Regions from separate parts of the Homo sapiens genome. Here regions 2 and 3 are each linked to region 1. The links are contacts of gene promoters, found by promoter capture Hi-C in blood cells and fetal thymus (Javierre and others, 2016). All regions are on one chromosome and are shown on one strand. Each heading gives the region's core, a stretch centred on a gene start or on the middle of the fragment in contact. The rest is flanking DNA. Distances are from core to core; before and after follow the strand shown. Region 1 holds the start of ZNF2 (zinc finger protein 2). Region 2 overlaps ZNF892 (zinc finger protein 892). Region 3 overlaps MRPS5 (mitochondrial ribosomal protein S5).

Region 1 (4,361 bases), core at 30-2,529:
TCCCCACTTTTGCCCTGGAAACATGGATGCTGCCCATAGCTCAGTCTTTGTACTTTCTTCGTTTTTGCCATCCCTCAGAAAGTCCATCCACATTCAGGGCTCCATTTTCAAACTCTACAGATGTCCATGTCCTGTAATTGTATTGTAATTTTACAATACAACTGTATTGCATTCTTCCAGACTCATCCTGCATTTCCAAATGACTGCAAACCTTAAATCAGGCGTTCCACCATCACCTCAAAACTATCTTCCTTTAGGCAATTCCACACATCAACGCCTCTTCCTGGCTTTACATTTGTATCAGATGTTTTATTGTTCTCCCAGGTGTCCCAAATTCAAACTCTTACCTCACTCTCTTTCCTCCCAAATCTAGTCACCAGGCCCTTTTGACTCTTCTTTTGCAGTGTCATCTGTATCCTTCCCTTTCACTACCACCACCATAATTCAAGTCCACAACATCTTACTCCAAAACTACCATACATTCCTAAGTAGCTCTCTGCTACTGGTCCTTTCCCCTCTCTAGTCCTGAATGTGACCTCTAGAATAACTGTCTCCAAATAGTTTCATTCGTGTCAGTCCCTGGATCACACCTATATAAGCCACCTTGCCTACTGAGTCTTGTCCTGATTCTCTGAGTCCCGGGCCCTGGCTCCCAGCGTACCTTTTCTTCAACCTTGTCTACCACTGTTCCTGCATTTCTGTAAAAACTATCTCCAGCTCAAATCTGCCTAACGCTTAGCTGCTTCTTTCGTGGTTTTTGTTTTGTTGTTGTTGTTTTTCTTTCACGTCAAATCCCACCTCCTCCATGAAGCCCTCCAGCACTCGTGCGGAGGCCCAGGGCAGGGAGCTAAATGAGGCAATCTGAGGCGCTGTCTGGCAAAGACGGAGCGGCAGCATCCTAGATTTGGTGTCAATTCCACCCACGTTCATTAAGCACCCATTATGGGAAGAAGAAACGGGAGAGGCGGAGGAAGACTCCAAACCTCCAACCTTAAAGTCCGGGACCGACATACAATGGGTGCCCAGACCCCACGGGACACACGCACACACGGGGGTGGATGCACAACTTTCCGTCCGCACCGAGACGTCGCGACACACGCTCTGCAGGCTGGCCTCGCCCGTGTCACCCCGTTTTGCTCCCACAGCACCTCCCCAAAGTTCTCATGTCCCCTCTCTCGGCTGCTGCGCTCACTCCGCTCCTTGAAGACACACACCCACAACCCTCACCTCCGGCACAGAGTGCTCGGGACCCGGGAAGACGGCGCCTCTTCAGGTCGGGAAACCAACGCGCCTGCGCACAGGGTCCTGGCGACTGCGCTCCCAATCAATGCGGGGCCTTCGCAAGGACTTCATCTCCCAGAAGTCTCGGCGTCCGGTGCGCTTTAATATGACGTCCGAAAATGTGTGCAAACGCCGGCTTCCCGTGGCTGAACAGGATCCAAAATGGCAGCGCTGTCGCCTTAGCTGGGAGAGCGAGCCGTTGTGGCTGTTTGGGAGACTTATGGTCACCCTGAAGTACTGCCTGCCTCTAGTGTCGCGTCCCTCCAGTATCCGATGGGAGCGCCGTCCGCAGGGAATGTGTCTCTCTGATCATGGTGCCTCGTGTCCAGCTCTGGGGAAGACCGAGACGAAATCGAGTCAGCTGGCGTTGGGAGAGGGCTTATTTCCGCTTCCGCTTGCCCACTTTCAGGAATTTGATTCTGAGAGCAGGGCTGCGGTTCCAGGCAGGGTTTGTACACATATTTGCGTTGGAAGGAGAGAGGAGCCTAGGACACATATGTATTAACTGTGCAGCTGGTCCGACTCCCGACAGCTTCAGCGCACACCAGCCAGCCTTGGAGTTGCTGGAACGGCCCTGGCTGCAAGCTGGAATCACCCGGAGAGCTTTCGACATTGATGCCTGAGGCCCAGCTGTGGAGCGACAGTTTGAAAAGAGCTGCAGGTGACTCTAATGTGCAGCTAAAGCTAGGAACCACTGAGCTACATCTCAGGGAAGACTGAAAATTACAAAGAATATGATAAAATCTTACTTCAGGAACAAAGCTACGTTTTTCCAGGTTAATTTATTAGTGGTTTGGGTTTTTTTTAAGTTTTTGTGGGTACACAGTAGGTGTGAACATTTATGGGCCACCTGAGATATTTTGACACAGGCATGCAATAAGTAATAATCTCATCAGGACAAATGGGATATCCATCACCTCAAGCATTTGTCCTTTGTGTTACAAACGATCCAGTTATATTCTTTTAGTTACTTTAAAATATACAATATTATTGGCTGTAATTACTCTGATGTGCTATCAAATACTAGTTATACTATTTCTTATTCTATTTTTTGTACCCATTAACTATCCCCACTTCCCCACCCCGCCAACCCTTCCCAGTCTGTTAACCATCCTTCTACTCTCCATCTCCATAAGACTACACTTTCATTCAAAAAATCCAAATTGCTCACCATAAGCAAGGCACAGTTACAAATATGAGTAAGTTACTGCCCCAAATGAACTCTTGGTCCAATGGAAAAAATCAGAATGTAAAATCACAATAGAGGCAGTATGTTCTATAATTATGTCACATTCAACATACTATGAGAGTACAATGGAGGAAGCTATTAACTATGGCCGGGAAAGGTGGGAAAGGATTCCTTTCACTGGTATACTTAAATACTTAAGAAAAAAAAAGTGTGATCTAAACAGTGAATAGTACATGCAAAGGCATAGTCTAGAGGATAAAAGTGAAAATAATTAGTAGCAAAATGAATGCCTTGTGGATGAGGTTTAGGGGCCAATAACTATCTTGAGGTAAGGCCAGGTTGTGGCTGCCTTTGTGTTGTACTAAGGGGTTTGGACCTTCCTAGGAGATTAGAGCTTGATTAAAGTCACAACATCCATAAGAGAAATACTTTTTTTTTTTTGTTCCCTTCTGTGTGGTGGTTTTTATTATTTAGCCTTATACTGAGGGTGGAAACTGGGGTCCTGAAAGTGTTTCCTTCTAGAATATTCCCCACCCACTGGCAGGCCCTAGGCTTTGTCTTTACCGCTTCCAGGTAGCTGCCAAAGTGGAAGTTTATGTGCTCTAGGATTTAGCAGTCTAAAAGTCAGGTTTGTTGCTCGATTCTCAGAATTCTAGCTCTCACTTTATTTATTTTTTGAGACAGGCTCTGGCTGTGTCAGCCAGGCCAGAATGCAGTGGCATGCTCTCAGCTCACTGCAACCTCCACCTCCTGGGCTCACGTAGTCCTCCCATCTCAGCCTCAAGAGTAGCTGGGACTACAGGCATGCACCACCATGTCTGGCTACTTTTTGTATTTTTTTGTAGACATGGGGTTTTACCATGTTGCCCAGGCTGGTTTCAAACTCGGGCTCAAGCAATCCACCCTCTTCGGCCTCCCAGAGTGCTAGGATTATAGGCATGAGCCACTGCACCTGGCCCATTTCACTTTATTTTTTTAAATGTTTACAAATTCCTCACTTTCATGCCTGCTCATCAGTGTGTTTATAAAGATGTTTGCAATTTTTCAGCATTTTTAGTTTTTTTATTAAGAGGGCTGTTTAGGCCATCTAATCGGCCATGTTACTGGGAAGATTAAGAGAATTTTAACTGATATTCTCAAAAGAGTTAGGAGGAGCATATGGAAGCTAAGCAGCCAAGAAGTGACATACATCCATCTTTTTAGAGTAAAACAGGTATCTCTTGGGCCCAGAAGCTTGTAGGCTCTGCCAAATTGCAGGATGTTATGGCCGTCTGATGCTGTTTAACCACTCCAAACTTAGTGGCTGAAAACAACAATTTTATTAGGCCAACATGTTCTGTGGGTCGGGAACTTGGATGGGCACAACAGGGATGGGCACACAGGGATATCATTTGGATATCCTCTCCAAATCTCATGTTGAGATGTAAACCCCAGTGTTGGAGATGGGGCCTGGTGGGAGGTATTTGGGTGATGGGGGCAGATCCCTCATGGCTTGGTGCCGTCCTTGCAATAGTGAGTACTCCTGAGATCTGGTTGTTTACGTGTGTGACACCTTCCTGCCCTCCCCAACTCTGTTTTGTTCCTGCTTTCACCATGCAAAGTGCAAACTCCCACTTCACCTTCCACAGTGAGTGAAAGCTCCCTGAGGCCTCCCCAGTAGCCAAACAGATGCCGTTGCCATGCTTCCTGTACAGCCAGCAGAACCAAGAGCCAAGGAAACCTCTTTTCTTTATAAATTACCCAGTTTCAGGTATTTCTTTATAGCAGTGCAAAATGGCCTAACACAGCTCGTTTCTGCTTCACAATTTCTGGATCCTCAATTGGGAGGACTATATCTGGCACCCAGATTGGCACCCGTGGCTAGGCTCAGCTGGGACTGTTCGCCAGTGTC
Region 2 (4,353 bases), core at 598-3,097, 47 kb before region 1:
ATGATGCCGAATAAGGGCTGAGCGGTGACTGAAGGCTTTCCCACACTCATGACATTCATAGGGTTTCTCCCCAGTATGAATTCTCTGGTGCAGAGTAAGGTGTATGCTCTGGCTAAAGGCTTTACCACATTCGTTACATTCATAGGGTTTTTCTCCTGTGTGAATTCTCTGATGCAAGACAAAAGCTGAGTAGTAACTGAAGGCTTTCTCGCATTCATTGCATTTCCAAGGTTTCTTTCCTGCACAAATTCTCTCATGCCTAATTATATCTGAATTTTGTTTTAAGTTATTTTTAAATGAATCACAATGATGTAGTCTCTCTCCTTGCTGCTGAACAAGTAAGGACCTCTGAGTGCAATTTCTTCTAAATTCATCAGATTGGTAGCTTCTCTCCCTAGAAGATTTCTCAGTGACAGCCTCTTGTATTAAATGTTTCTCATGGTTTTCCTGCTGACTCTCTAAAGAATCCTCACATTCACTAGAACTTTCCTTTGAAAATCTTACAATTAACACCCCAGGAGCCGATTCTTCTTCAGAAATATCCTTCTCTGGAGTTAGCTCCTTGCTTTCTGGTATTGTTTCCCAGTCTGAAATAAGCAAAAACACACATGTGTATCATTTCCTACACTGAGAGAAAAATAACTGCTGTGGTAGGAAATTAATGAAACATGTTTGTTTCATTCTTTGTTAGGAATATTTACAGGGAACACATGAACTTGAAAGCTCTCAAAAATAGTCTTGCAATCTTGAGAGAACACAAGAAAAAAAAGATGACTGGACAAAGAAGTACGACGGCATAAAAGGAGTGTGTGTGCAGGTACTCAACATTCCTCTATGCAGCAGGATAGGAAATAACAAAAAATAACAGAATGAGACTAAGAAGAGGTGATATGGAGAAATAGCAGATTTTTTTAAAAAAGGATCTAGAGGAGATAGATCCTTTAGAGGAGATAGGATCAGAGAAAGATGGTCTTCCAAAGACTCACTGTACCCATCTGACCAGAGCCTTATCATTTCATGCCTCAAGAATGACCATCTTTAGCTAATCTCCTTGCCACCAATCTTTTCCTACTCCAATATGTCCCAACCACTGCTAAAAGACTAATTGCTCAAAACCATCTCCCTTTCACAAAAATCTGTTGGTTCTACTGTCTCAAGATAAGACACAAATTCTAGAAGCTAGCATTCAACATAGTCCAGGTCTACAAACTCAAATGACCACAAAGCTTATTAATTGGAAAGCAACTAATCACCTCTGATTGCTTACCATCACCCTAGACCCAGCAAACTGGAAAGAGTAAAACAGAACCAAGAAGAAAGAAAAAAGAGAGAAAGGAAAGAAAGAGAAAAACAGCAGTGTGTTGGGAGGGGAAGGTCAAAACTCCATGTGTTCAGATGAGTCCCCAACCTCTCAAGATATCTACCCCAAGTTCCTGGGCTTCCTAGTAAGAATTTGAGGGGGAAAAGCTTCATTGCTAAAAATGTTTAAATACTTCCAAGCTTAAATGGTCTTTAACACCCATTCCAATCATGTCTCTACATGAAATAAATTAATACAATACAGTGTTCTCAACTAGATATATTCAGGGAAGTGCCTGGGATTTTAAAGGACAAATAGGTAGAATAGGTTAAAAGCAAATGGACATCCAGCTAAGGGGAGTGGAAAAAATTAAAGCCCCAAATGTTCATGAACACACAGTTAGTGGAGGATAGTGAGGGACTTGCCTATCTGATGTTAAGAGTTCAAGTTGAAGAACAGAGAAGGCAAAAAAGTTAGGCAGACTAACAACGGCTTTGAAAGCAGGTAGAGGAATACAGAGCTGGCAGAGTAAGCAACTCAATGGGGAATCTAGCAGTATTATGCTGCCTCAATTTTACAAGGGTAAGAGTAAAAGAAAGTATAATTAGCCAACAGTCTTTTGCAGTAATCCAGTTTGACAGAAGTAACAGGGTCAAATCCATAACATCTTTCAAAAAAGTTACTAGGACTTAATAGCTATCTTTGCTTAGCATATAGCCAGGTACTGTTTAAAACATTTCTCTTGGATTATTTCCTTTGATCACCACCAAAACAGTATAAGCTCTGTGCTATCATTATCCCCATTTTAATTTAAGTCACAGAGAACACAAGTCATTTGTTAAAGGTCACAAAGCTAATGAGTAGCTAAGATCAGCTTTAAACCAAGGAAGCTTAGTTCCAAAGTCTGCAGTCTTAACCATCATGCTATGCTGCCTCTGCTTAGACAGAGAAGGTGGCAAGGGAAAACCCAGAGATGAATTTACAGTCATTGATCTGAGACTCAAAAAAATGGCATCCAGCAAAGATAAAATAACACATGTAAAAAATCCTGCTTTAGAGCCTTGAACCCAAGCAAGTTATTAACAAACATTAAAATGTTGGTTTCATTTTACCTTATTTGGGAAAAAGAATTGGTTTGAAAGAGTAGAAAGTATTTACTTTCTAAAAAATCAAATTATAACTTTATAAACAGATAACCATCCACAGAGCTAGGATGTGGCATAGGGGTGAGACAGGGACTTCAACTTTTCCATGGGTCTAGCAAAATCTGGACAGGCTCCTCCTCCACAAGCATTTGCATTGACAATCTGGGTTTTACTTGCACTGTTTCCAACACTCACGCTTTTGACTGGCTGCCTTTGAGACTTCTCTCTCCAGCTCTTCCTCATGCTCCAACTGAGAGATTACATCAGGTGTGGAAATTGGAAGCCCTATTCATAGGGAAAGAAAAAGGAGTCTGGTGAAGACCTCAGTGTTCATTCCCTGGTCTTTAGGAACATGGTAAGAGAGGGAGAGAGTGAGGTCAGTTCTCCATTTCTTCCTCAACAGTGTTCACGAGGTAGGAAGATTGATAGGGGTTTGAGTCCCTTATCAATTTTACCTCCCCCTATTTAAAGAATAAGCATCCATTCTCTTAAGAGTTGTTTTCATTAGCACTTTGTCTCCACATCCTTGGTCAAGGAGTTGAGAAGAAGGATGCTACAAGTCCATAAAATAAAGGTGTTTATGTCTAATTCCAGGAGTGTTAAAACTATATCCAGAAACAAAAGGCAGAAATTGCCTGTCTCAGGCCCTACTAGAATTAAGAATCATTGAATATAAGGACCTTGGAGCTCCTAGGAACTGAGGAGGACAAGGTACCACACTGGGTAAATTCACAGGCATTGGGGGAGCCATCCTTACCCAGCAAGACCAGATTCCTAGGCTTCTCAGGCACATCTCCCTGAGGAGAGTTCAGCTGCCTCCACTGGGTGAGAGCCTCGGCCATATCCCTGATCATCAATTCCTGAAAAACCAAACACATTGGTGCTCACCAATGAGCCTCCTTACAGAGGCCTCTGAAGAGGAATAAAACTGACAGCACAGGAGGAGGAAGACAGAAAGGATAAAAAAAGGACAGACAACATGGCCTTGGCCACCCTTTCCAGTACTAAGATTCTCTGGTGAATATGTAGTCCACAGACTCACTCTCTGCCTCCAGGCAGCAGAAATGCATATTACCTGCAAGTAGGAAGGAAAGCACCTTCAATGTAAAACTTGAACGTATGAACTTTTTAGTTTATGTATCAATAAATTACAGAACTACAGAATTTGCTACTACTTATACAGGAAAAAGGAGAGAAAAATGTAATTATGAATTAAGTATTTTCCTTATGGTATAGTTTTTAAAACATATGGGGTTCAAGAAATTGAAGTATTTTTTCTCTAGTTTTCCTAAGAATGAAATCAGTCCCATATATATTAAAAATTAAGATGTTTCCTACACGTCACAGAATATAGACTTATTTGTAAAACAGTATCTGAAGCCCAAATGATTATGAAAGTTCCCAGAGTGTTCTTGTCATTTTTCACAACGACCCTGATCAATCTGCCCGCGTCCCCCAGTTGGTGGCATTCTTTCATCTGCTTGAAGTGTGTGTCCTATTCCCGTTAGCCCCTTTACACATCCTGCTTCCTATTCCTGAATATTCTGCCCTCTGCCCCATCCTTTCAGCAATGTGAATCCTTCTCTCCCTTCAGATCTCAGCTCAGGTGTTACTTCAAGGGAAGCCTTCCCTGACTCTCTAGTTAGAACACATGTTCCTTCCATTCCCTTGGGTTGCACACATAGAGGGGATCTTGTGGCTAACATAAGCTCCACAGGAGCAGAGGCCAGGTCTATTTTTGCTCACTGAAGCAGCCTAGTACTTGGCACAGAGCAGAAACTCTGTAAATATTTGTTGAATATTTGAATGAAAGAAAGGAAGGAAGGAACAAGAATTAATAGAAACAAGTTTAAATGGGGTGTTCTATAAACGTGTGCATGGGAACAGAAGTGGGGAGGAGAACAGAAG
Region 3 (4,355 bases), core at 928-3,427, 64 kb after region 1:
GGTTATAAAAACAGTGTAGCCATACACTGTAATATTCTGTATCCATTAAAGAATTATGGGAAATTAGTTTTAAAATAATGCTAAGTTAAAAAAAAAAACACAAAAACGTTATATAAGACCATATAAAATCCTAGTTTTGTTTTTTTCTTTTTTAAAAGTATATTTATGTGCCAAGAAAAGACTGGAAAACTGTACACTGTAAAGGTTAATAGTGTTTACTCCAATTAGTAGGTTTGCTGATGATTTAAATTTTCTCCTATGTATAGTTAACATAGTGGACACCTGTTTTTGAAATGTATTCATGTCTGTTGAAGGAAAAGAACACAGGAAAATGGCCTAGTTAGCCCATACTGACATTTAACAAAAGTAATACATATATATATAGTATGTGGCCAAAGGAAACCAGGCCTAACAGCTACTTTTGTAATTTTCCTAAATTTTATGTTCATATTATTATCATACATCTTTAAAAAATTTACATAAAGGGATCACATTATAGCCATAATTTTGCACCTTGATTTTCTGACATAGTATTATATTCAGAGATATTAATACTCAGATTAACATAAACATTCTCCTTGATTCGTTGTACTGGTTGCAAAGTGTTCCATTGTGCATGGATAATTTTTGTAACCTTTTCCCTACTGCTGAATATTTAAGTTGTTTCCAAATTTTTACTAATTATAAAAAACTGTACAGTTCGTTTATGTGTAATTTGTTTTACTTCTGCAAGTATATCAATAGGGGAAACTTCTTGCAGTAAAATTGCTGCCCCAAGGTTATATGTATTTTAAGTGCTGATAAATATTCCTAGATTGCCTCCCCACAAAAGGTTGCATCAATGTCTGTGTTTCTCTACACCATCTCACCCTTGCCAACTTCGGGTTTCATCAGACCTTACTGATTGTCAGTATGATCTGTGAAACAAATCTCTCAGTTTTGATTTGCATTTTTTAAATTATGAGAGCTTGAACACCATTTTACATGTTTATTGGCTGTTGTTATTTCCTTTTTGAGATCTGTTCGTTATATGCTTTGCCCGTTTTTCTGTTGGGTGGTTATTATTTTTCTTATTGAATGGTATAAGCTCTTTGTAAGTTAAGGACATTAGCCCTTAGTCAGATATTTTGACTTAGGTTTTAATTTTTTTCCACACAGAAGTTTTAAGCTCTGTGGCAAATTTATCAGTCTTATATCACTACAGGGTTATAAATATTAGTTATCACTTCGGGTTTGTGTCTTGCTTAGAAAGCCTCATTTGAAGATTGTAAATGTTAGTAAGTTTCCCCATATTTTCCTCTAGGACTTCCATGGTTTAATTTGTTTTGTTTAAACTAGGAATTGGCATTCACATCCTCTTTTGTCCCAGGTCTCAGAGGTCCCTTGTATCTTATAGAGCAGTATTGTTTTATGTTATTTTCCCATGTATAATTTAAAAACAAAATACGTTGTTCAAAACAAAATACAGTGGCAGCAGATAATGGCAGTATCTCTGTAACTGCTGGTAAACTGTATTTCATAGTGAAGTGTTCATAAACTAAAGAGTCATTGATTTGGTTTCCTGGCTAATTAAAATCTGAATTCCATTTGAAGTTCCATTGAAATCATGGTTTTACTCTATAGCAGTGGATGTTTTTTCCCAACCTTTCTGATATTTTTTTCCTTCCTGAGACAGGGTCTTGCTCTGTCACCTGGGATGGAGTGTAGTTGCACCATCAAGGCTTACTGCAGTCTCAACTCTCTGAGCTCAAGTGATCCTGCCACCTCAGCCTCTTGAGTAGCAAGGATTACAGGCACCTACCACTATGCCTGGCTAATTTTTATATTTTTTGTAGAGATGGATTCTCACTATGTTGCCCGGGCTCATCTTGAACTCGAGCTCAAGCAATCTGTCCATCTTGGCCTCCCAAAGTGCTGGGATTATAGGCGTGAGCCACTGCACCTGGCCCCTTTCTGATTATTTTAATCTATCTTTAAATGTTCAAAGTGATTTGCCTAATTCATTTAAAGCATATTTAGTTTTTTTTAAATTGAGTGTATTTTATCTAGATATTTTTAAAAGGCAGCATCTAACCTTGGATTTTATAAATACATCTAAATTTGTTATTTCCAGAATGCTTCAAAACAGATCTCTGTAGCCTCGTGCTTTGTTATTGTTAGGTTTTTTTTTTTTGTTTTGAGACAGGGTCTTGCTCTATCTGGAGTGCAGTGGCACAGTCATAGCTCACTGTACCCTCAAACTCCTAAACTCAAGTAATCCTCCCATCTCAGCCTCCTGAGTAGTTGGGACCACAGTCATGCACCAGCATGCCTGGCTAATTTTTTAAATTTTGTTCTTAATAGAGACAGAGTCTTGCTGTGTTGTTCAGGCTGGTCTCAAACTCCTGGGCTCAAGCGATCCTCCCACCTCAGCCTCCTAAAGTGCTGAGATTACGGATGTGAATCATTACACCCAGCCTATTAATGGTTTTGTATAGCAAGTCTTTTGTGGGTGGTGGAAAGATGAAGTGCTGTGAAATATTGTAGGAGCAGAAACTTGAAATGTGGCAAAAACCACATGGGCAAAATTTCTGTCTCTTTTCTTATTTTTGCTTTTTTGTTTAAAGGTTTTTCTATTGGGAAAGCTACTGATCGGATGGATGCTTTCAGGAAAGTATGTACATTTTTTTTCTTTGTTGACACTCAGTAAAAGATTAGTAAGTTATATGCCAGACACAGTGGGAACCACAAAACAATAATAATTTGTCCCAGAACCTTCCCATGAGGCTTGCTGTCAAGGGTTAATTAGCTCATAAAAATCAGTTTCAGAAGTACTTATATTCCTTTGCACCATTTTTTATCAGATTTGTAATTGTCTAGCCAAGTTATGAGACAATTGTGGAAGTTTGAACACTGACAGAATGTTTGAAGATACTAAGGAATTGTTACTTTTTTTTTTTTTTTTTGAGACGTTGTCTCACTCTTGTCACCCAGGCTGGAGTGCAGTGGCACGATCTCGGCTCACTGCAACCTCCGCCTCCTGAATTCAAGTGATTCTCCTGCCTCCGCCTCCCAAGTAGCTGGGATTACAGGTGCCCACCACCACACCCGGCTAACTTTTGTATTTTTGGTAGAGATGTGGTTTCTCCATGTTGGTCAGACTGGTCTCGAACTCCTGATCTCAAGTGATTGGCCTGCCTCGGCCTCCCAAAGTGCTGGGATTGTAGATGTGAGCCACCATGCCTAGCCAGGAATTATTGTTAATTTTTTTAGGGGTGATAGTGATATTGTAGTTAAGAGTTTTAAAAAATAAGTCCTTATATTTTAGAAGTATATACTAACCTTTTTGCGTAAGTGAATTTTTGATAATGAAACATTTTTATTAAAAGTGTTTTTGGAATCCTTGAAAAGATGTAAATTTCAACAATAGAGTTAAGAAAAACATTTTCCTTTCAGGCAAAGAACAGAGCAGTTCACCATTTGCATTATATAGAACGATATGAAGACCATACAAGTGAGTGATAATCTATTTTTTTTTTTTTAATTTGCAGGATTACATTTGTTAAAGTCTGTGTGACAATGTATCTCTATAGGTATCTTTGTGTTTCTCTCTTATTACATTCTTACAAATATATGAAGTGTGAAAACAAATCTCCTAAGAAGGTTACTAAAATGAATGAAATCAGAGCTTACCATTTATCTTTGGTCAATATGTGCTGGCTGTTGAGGCTAGTATACATTGCTTTGTGATATTTGCAAAGGCTTATTAAAGCCACACACCTAATCCTCTTGTGTTTATGTTTTTACCCTCCAGTATTCCATGATATTTCATTAAGATTTAAAAGGACGCATATCAAGATGAAGAAACAACCCAAAGGTAACTTTAAAACTCTTACCATTTGTTGATGATAAAGCAGAGAAATTATAACAGTTCTATCCTCTCCTCTATTTTTGTTCATCTTTAGTTGAACTCATCTTGGAAACACCAAAATGTAAAAGGCTTATGTTAGATTTAAGAACGATGAGGCTCTTGGAGAAATAAGAATAGTCAAGGCACACAGGCTACTGTGAGCACAGGCCTGTTCCAGGAATAATTTACGGTGGGGAGAGCACATTGGAAACGGGAAATAGCACCTGAGTGAGTAGTAGGGTTTGGAGGAGTGGGAACATTAGTTCCTCATAGGGAATTCATTGATGCATTTAGGTGTTTCAGTTCTGACTCAGGTCCAGGTGTTTAGTGCTCATCAAATTCTGATTGAATGCCTTCTGTGAGCTGGGTGCTATGCTAAGCACTAGGGATGATGCAGAGATGGTCTTTCCTGTTTTGTGGACAAGCAGGCAGGCAGGCAGAGTTCAGGGTCATGGGCTAGGGCAGT

Evidence for each region. Contacts are between HindIII fragments. The CHiCAGO score rates a contact against its expected background, and 5 or more counts as called.
Region 2: a fragment that was not itself captured here is called in contact with the fragment with the promoter of ZNF2 in region 1 in 15 of 17 cell types (naive B cells, total CD8 T cells, total B cells and 12 more); the score reaches 17.3 in naive B cells.
Region 3: a contact is called between a fragment that was not itself captured here and the fragment with the promoter of ZNF2 in region 1, in 2 of 17 cell types (total CD8 T cells and naive B cells). The highest score is 5.9, in total CD8 T cells.

The regions. Positions count from the first base shown.
Region 1 is chr2:95,162,727-95,167,087 of GRCh38, reverse strand. It overlaps ZNF2 (zinc finger protein 2), which reads right to left and starts at 1,279. Exons shown (of 5, transcript NM_021088.4): 1 at 1,228-1,279. RefSeq lists enhancers at 1,163-1,592, 1,020-1,654, 1,655-2,291. The HindIII fragment of the contact is 3,796 bases long and covers 1-3,705 here.
Region 2 is chr2:95,210,570-95,214,922 of GRCh38, reverse strand. ZNF892 (zinc finger protein 892) reads right to left here. Exons shown (of 5, transcript NM_001395961.1): 3 at 3,203-3,305; 4 at 2,641-2,730; 5 at 1-587. Among named protein-coding and RNA genes, the nearest start is that of ZNF892, 5.2 kb to the right of the region's middle. The HindIII fragment of the contact is 690 bases long and covers 1,503-2,192 here.
Region 3 is chr2:95,099,975-95,104,329 of GRCh38, reverse strand. MRPS5 (mitochondrial ribosomal protein S5) reads left to right here. Exons shown (of 12, transcript NM_031902.5): 8 at 2,607-2,653; 9 at 3,436-3,493; 10 at 3,794-3,856. Among named protein-coding and RNA genes, the nearest start is that of MRPS5, 20 kb to the left of the region's middle. The HindIII fragment of the contact is 4,684 bases long and covers 1-4,355 here.